2 separate regions of the Homo sapiens genome follow, and region 2 is linked to region 1. The links are contacts of gene promoters, found by promoter capture Hi-C in human tissues and cell types (Jung and others, 2019). All regions are on one chromosome and are shown on one strand. Each heading gives the region's core, a stretch centred on a gene start or on the middle of the fragment in contact. The rest is flanking DNA. Distances are from core to core; before and after follow the strand shown.

Region 1 (3,590 bases), core at 864-3,363:
AGTTCGGAGCGTTTGCTCTGGGACCTAGAGGCACAGTTGGGTTCTCCTACTCCCAAGAAAAATGTGCTGAGGCCCAGTCAGAGAGAATGGAGTCAGAAATGGACTGGGCTTTATCAATCAAGTGAAGCTTCAACTCTGGGGAGTTGGAGTGGGTTTGGTGGATATGTGGCAGAGAAGAAAGCCAATGAGCATCCTTTGGTCTCATCACATAATCTTGGAAAAAGCTTCCCGATGTTTGATGTAAAGATGCAACCTATCAGAGAGTACTCCAAACTGAATGGCCCAGGAAAGCATGGCCTTCTGAAGCCTGCTTAGGACTGGCTTGCCCCATCTACTACCTGCTGGGTCCACATGAACTGTTTAATTGTGCCTCTCAAACTGGATACTGCACATATTACTGCACATATCTTTTTCACATGGAAAGCAGCTCCTGGTATCCCGCCACCGCCTATTCTCCCCCACGTCACCCCGACTGTGTCAACCTTTCTTCTTTGGTGTCACCAGTGCTCTGGGATGCTTCTATGGCTCTGGAGGCACAGAGAGACCCCAGCTCCAATGACACCAAAGGCAAAGACCAGCTAACAAAGAGGGACCAAAGGTAGCACCTCAGGCCTTCATTGGATATATTCCTGATGGGGCGTGGAGTCACCAGAGCCCTTGGAACCTTTGCTCAGTGCTTTGGGGAAAAACCAGAGGTGAGCCAACAAATGGGTTTGGTGGCTGGCACAAGTGAAGGTGAGCCCAGGTGCCCACTCTTCCCAGCTGTGCCATGGCAGAGAGTAGCAGGATGTCTGTGAGGATCTGATCCTCACTCTCGGAGATCCACACCCACTTGCCATAAGACAGGAAGTGGACATAAACTCAATGGAGGCTAGGTCCCGTGGGTGTGGCTTCCTGTCCTCCTCTAGGTGTTCTGCTGCAGAGAGGGTGCCTCAGTGGTCTCGGAGTGGTGGGCACACACCAGATGGGATCTGAAACTTTTGTCAAAGATGTGGGTTCAGGATAAGGAGTCCAAAGCTCACACTTCTGTCCTCTACCTGGCTTCTTGTTTTTCAAAGAAACCCACAGAACTTTGCCCTACTTCAGAAATCAGCAGCTTCTGATTGGAATTCTCAGCCTGTTTGCAGAAGAGGGTATCTCACATGTGCCTCTGCAAGCCTGGGAGAGATTTCCTCACCTCACTTCCCAGTGCACCTCAATGCACCAAAATGTGAGCATAGACTACTATGAGGAGAAGGGCGGGGCACCTGGGGAGGAGGGCCCTGTGTGTGTGGTAGGGGAGGGAGTAGAGAGGCCAGACTATTATGGAAGCGCCCATTAGAGACCTGCACCAGACTCTGAGGTTGGGTTGGAGTTGTCAGCTGCCTATCCAGCGCCCATTAGGGTTCTCCTCTTTTCCTCCTCCAGCGTTCTCTCCCCGACTAGACCCACCCAACCACCTCGCCAATCCCTGTGCCCTCGCTGACTCACCTTCTCATTTTCTCTCAGGCCACTGGGGGCTGTCATCCTCACCTGTAGAAAGGTGGATGCTCAGGGAGAGGAAGGCTGTCACAGATGAGAGCTCCTCCTCGTGGATGGTGGCTATCAGAGCCCGAGAGACACCAGGCATCCTCGCCCAGAGGATTTGCTCCGCCCTGAAAGGGGTGTGGTGTCAAGCGGCGCAGGGTTCTCTTCCAAGGTGGGTGCCAACCAACCCAACGCGTATTGGACCTCAAGCATTCCAGGGATGTGGCTCCCTCTGTTTGCAGAAAGTCCAATGAACCAGCTTTGATAGCATGCATCCTTCGATAGCTCAGCTGGTAGAGCGGAGGACTGTAGATTGTATAGACATTTGCGGACATCCTTAGGTCGCTGGTTCGATTCCAGCTCGAAGGAAGTGCGTGATGCTTTTGGTTAAAAGCCCTGCAGCTTCCAAGTAGTAACCACACTCTCCCGGGCAAAACACCCACGAAGTCTTTCCTGATCACCTAGCTTCCCACGCCTTGCTTCTACTTTGTGACCCCACTAATCCCTCTATTCATGCTGACCACTACTTCCCCACCCTGTGCTCCTTCGCTTTTCTTCACAGACTGCTCTCGAGCTTGAGCATCTCCACTGGCTGTGACAAAACCGCTGTGCTCACCTTTGACAGAGCTCTCCTGACCAGGTGGGCAAAGCCTGGAAGGTCAAGTTCCCTGGAGAACGTCAAGCTTACTTGACAAGGGTGTAAAGTGGGGATAACCGTGGTATCTTCCGTGAAAACTCACCCTCTCACTCTCATCCATCTCAGGCTCTTTATCACTGCATTGAGATCTGACAGTCTCATGTTTGTCTCTGTCTCATTCTCTTTCTCTCTTTCACCGTTTCTCTGTCTCTGTATATTTCTCTTTGTCTCTGTGTCTCTGCCTCCCTATCTCTCTTCCCTGAGCCCTCAGCCTGCCCCTCTCATTCTCCTTGGCTGGAAATGTATAGACCTATACAGGCGTAAAGAAAATGTTCATTCCCACTTTGCTGTGTCTACTTTGGGGAGACAGCTGTCACCCTGAGAATTTCCTAATCCTAAGAACTTCCATTAGCAAGGTCAGGTTGCCCTTTAGGTTGAGGACAAGGTGAGTCTATCCCCTATCCCCATAGCTTTTCCCAAATCCCTCAAGCCTCACTTTTTCTGAGCCTTCACAACTTTTCATGCTGCTACAGCGGAGTTTGGCCCCTGCTAGAAAAGAAAGGACCTAATATTCAGTTCAAAGCCAGCAAAAACACCTGTGTTGAGTGCCCTGCTACTTGAGAGGGTAAGGGAGATGGAAGGGGAGTACAAAAGTGCAGGCTGGAAAAGAGCTTCAGTGATCCTGGAGAGTTAGAGGCTGTTGGGTCCATGGCAGGGAGCAGAAGTAAAGCTTGAGTGACAGCTGTCATTATACAGAGGCACACGAATTCGCTGCCTTAGGCCACTGCCTGGTGGGTCTGAGCAGTTTGGAGCTTTGGGACTAGAGGCACAGTTGGACTCTACCCTCACCCCAAAGGAAAAAGTGCTGAGGCCTAATCAGAGAGAATGAAGTAGGAAATGGACTTAGGTTTTCTCCAACGAACAGGGGTTACACCTCCAGGGAGATGGAGTGGGTTCTGTGGGTATGGGGCAGAGAAGAAAGCCAACAAGCGTTCCTTGGTCTCATCTCACCATCTCAGAAAAAATCTCCAGAGATTTGATGCGCACATGCAACCTATCACAGAGAGCACTCCAAGCCAAATGGCCCATGGGAACGTGGCCCTCTGAAACCCTCTGGGGACTGGGACACCTGCCTCCACTACCTGCTGTGGCCACAAGAGCTGTTTCATTGCAGGTCTCAAACTGAAGACTACACAGGTCTTTCTTGGGAAGCAGCTCCTGATCTCCCTCCACCTCCCTATTTCCCCCAATGTTCCCCTGGCTTTGTCAGCCTTTCCTGCTTCTCATTGCTAACAGAAGGAGGCCAAGCTGTGGCATCGCCAGTGCCCAGGATGATTCTATGGCTTTGGAGCCACAGAGAGATCCCTGCCTCCAATGACACCAAAGGCAGAGGCTAGCGAACACAGACGAAATGTAGTACCTTTGTCCCTTATTGGATAAGTTCATG
Region 2 (3,329 bases), core at 591-3,090, 300 kb before region 1:
TAGGTTGGTGTCGGGAAGGGGTCAGTGGATGGAAAATTACCTAGAGGAGATATCAAGGCTAGGGAGACCAATGCTAAGTTGATGTAATTGGATTTTTGTTTTTTGAAGGTAGGTCAGGAATCAGTTATCACATGGAGGATGATGGGGGAATTAAGGAATTTGGTCAAATATTGAGGGTGAGAGACTCATGATAAACCAAGTTAGGAGGACTTCTGTTAAACCTGACTTTAGGTCTGGCACTGGTGGCTCATGCCTCTAATCCCAGCACTTTGGGAGGCTGAGGAGGGCGGATTGCCTGAGGTCAGGAGCTGGAGACCAGCCTGGCCAACATCTTGAAACCCCCTCTCTAAAAATTACAAAAATTGGCTGGGTATGATGGTGCATAACTGTAATCCCAGCTACTCGGGAGGCGGAGGAAGGAGAATAGCTTGAACCTGGGAGGTGGAGTTTGCAGTGAGCTGAGATCTCGCCACGCACTCCAGTCTGGGCGACAGAGCGGGACTCTGTCTCAAAAAATAAAATAAATAAAATAAAATAAAATAAAATAAAATAAAATAAAATAAAATAAAAAATAAATACAAATGACTCTACAAGGAAGGACTAGGAAGCCCAACAGGATGACCTAGTTGTGAAGAGGGTTTAGAGGAGATGACTAAAGCTTGATCAAAGCAAGAGTCTTCGACAGTTGCTAGATATCGGTTGAGACCTCAGCTTCTCAGCCTAAAGCAGGGAGAGGGATAAGACTGTGCTGTTTCATGACAGAAAGCGTCTCTTATCTTCAAATCTCTCTGTTTCCCGGAAGTCTCAGGTTAGAGGAAGAAAAATCTCTAGAGTAGATTGTCACTAAATGACAGCAGAGCGGCTAATGAAGACACACAGACACTTTCAGATGAATTTGCAAAGCAGTTTATTGCAGGGTTCACAAGGCACTTCAGCTCAGGAAAGCTGAAGGGGTATGGAGACTGATGAGGACAGATGCTGATACCCAAAGTATATGGAGAGATGGGATCTTGGCTATGATTGAGGAGCTTGGCAGATGAGTGATGATGAGGAGTGCTGATACAGGAGCTTAGATGATTCTATCCAGGTGAACTGGAACCACCGGATACTGTGGAGGGTCTCGTCGTTGATCTCTGTTGTCACATGCAACTATATAGAACATGTTTGCTGGTGTCTGCGCATACCTGCAGTTTGAAATATTCTGTGGACTTGGAGTTGTGAGGTTACAGTGGATTAAAGGCACCTGGCTTCCACTGTGGTGACAATTTTTGCGAGTTTTGTTACTAGGACAGGTCATATTTGGGTTACCACAAACATTAACTACGTTAGCAAAAGTTGTAAGAAGGAAAGTATTTTGGTTTTTGCATCGCCGTTGATAATTGTTAATGACCTGCATTGCATTGGTGCATTGCTGGGAGGTCATATTGATGTGCTGGGTTTCAAACCATTGAGCCCAGGTAAACTGTGGAGGTTTGACATGGAGTGAGCCCTCCACAGCCAGAAGCCCCAACAGAAGAAGCAGACAAATTTGGGAAGTGAACAGTTTTGGAACCATGTTTCCTGTAAGAAAAGAAGAGAAGTAACTACTCCCTGATCGGGTCTTGGTTATGACACACACTGTAGTGTCTTACCCCACAGGCCCCTCTGCGGCCACTCTGGGGTCCCATTTCCTTTACTTCCTGTCTGCAAAGTGTGCAACGTCTCCTAAGCACTAACGTCAGCTCTCTTCTCCCTCAGTTGCTGCCCCATTGCTGCCCCTTCTGTCCCAGCTCTGGGGATCGTTGACTTACCCAGTCTCCGCGCTGTAGCTCCTGTGAGAACTGATCCAGCTGGTTGTTCTGGGGTTCAGGGGCAGCTGGTCTCCCCTACTTGGAACTGTTTAAATAAAGCATCCCTTGGTGGGTTGGGCCAGCAGAGCCCAGAGGGAGGGTCTGGCTCTTGGCCATGCAGAAACCCACAGATTGGTACATAGTCCACTTGTGCAATCATCCTTTTTATTTGATGACTTGGCTGAGCAACGGATACCCAAGGACAGCCCTGCTGCTCTTTCTGCTATAAGGACTCTAATTCCAAGTCATCCTGTGTAAGACAGAGTTTTGCTGGTTAGATCCAAACTCTGGATGAAAACTATATGCTGCCTGCAGAATGACCACAGATTTTATAACTGTCCTCTGGCAGGCCACTAAATGACCAAAGTACATGAAGGCAGGCATAGTAGTTAGAACAAATAGAGCCACTGAGGGCTGTTTGCCCAGGAGAAACCCAGCTTCCCTTTCATTTTTAGTAATATCCTTGGTTCTCTCTCACACAAATGCTCTCCATCTCATCCACCACTCTTGCTGGAAACTTGAGCTATTAATTTCTTAGGGCACAAGATTCTGTAGATAATTAAAACAATCTGCTACACATACTTGAGGGATTTTTTTCTTTACTCCTCTTGCATTGGATCCACTTTCTCTTAAGTCTTGCCCTGATTATTGCTTCCACTTTGTGTAAAGTTACACAACCTAAAAACACACCGAGGACAGTTGTAAAGTCTGGCAGAGAATGAATGAACATTTGGTGTCATGAAAGATTCCAACCTAGCACTCGGTATTCCTGTGATCTTTTCAGCCTATGGTATTTTCTACAAAACACTGTGTTCTGGGGTTGTCATTCATCTTCCTGGTAAGTTTCATTTTGTGATATTAACAAGAAAATGGTTCTGTATTTACAAATGAACATTTAAGGACAGAGCACTGTATTCCTGAAAGTATAGAGGTCAAGTGTACAGTTTGATACACAAAGCATACATTTATTCTTGGCCCTCAGAGACATACAGGAAAGTAATTGTAGACACATAATTGTATTACACTTGTGTGAACATGGTTTCATGGGGACGCCGAGGGTGAAGGAAATCACTTGGCTTGAGGGACAAGGAAGACTTCAAAAAAAAAAGTTTGATTTCAGCAGGGCCCTAAAAGATAAGCAGGGAGTTTTCAGGGACTTTAGGGAAGAGATGAGCATTCTGGGCACAGGGGATGATGTGGGGAAATTGTACAGAGGTGGGAAGTGAATTGCAGTGGTAAGACCTGAGTACTAAGAGATGTTAAATCTGGTCTAGCTTTCAGATTAGAAAATTGATATTAGACCCTTAAATGATATAATATACCTTCCAACAGTTAATCTACATAATTTTTACTACCATCCAATTTTCCTGTCATTTAGAAATGCAATAATTTTATCACTGGGGTCCTTAGGTAAATGTGGACACAATGGTGACCCAGTGAGGACTCAATGCGCAGCTAATATTGCTCTGCCTTGAAGTCCTCTTCTGGCCGACATTCATT

What was found. Contacts are between HindIII fragments. The study calls those that stand out against the background at their distance.
Region 2: the fragment with the promoter of RNASE2 here is called in contact with a fragment that was not itself captured in region 1 in 1 of the 25 tissues and cell types used here (adrenal gland).

The regions. Positions count from the first base shown.
Region 1 is chr14:20,655,749-20,659,338 of GRCh38, reverse strand. TRY-GTA4-1 (tRNA-Tyr (anticodon GTA) 4-1) reads left to right here and starts at 1,782; the gene lies at 1,782-1,875. It overlaps LOC124903281 (a long non-coding RNA gene), which reads right to left. Exons shown (of 2, transcript XR_007064059.1): 2 at 1-1,634. The HindIII fragment of the contact is 3,874 bases long and covers 177-3,590 here.
Region 2 is chr14:20,953,998-20,957,326 of GRCh38, reverse strand. It overlaps RNASE2 (ribonuclease A family member 2), which reads right to left and starts at 1,840. Exons shown (of 2, transcript NM_002934.3): 1 at 1,791-1,840; 2 at 891-1,560. The coding sequence starts at 1,555. The coding sequence ends at 1,070. The HindIII fragment of the contact is 15,094 bases long and covers 1-3,329 here.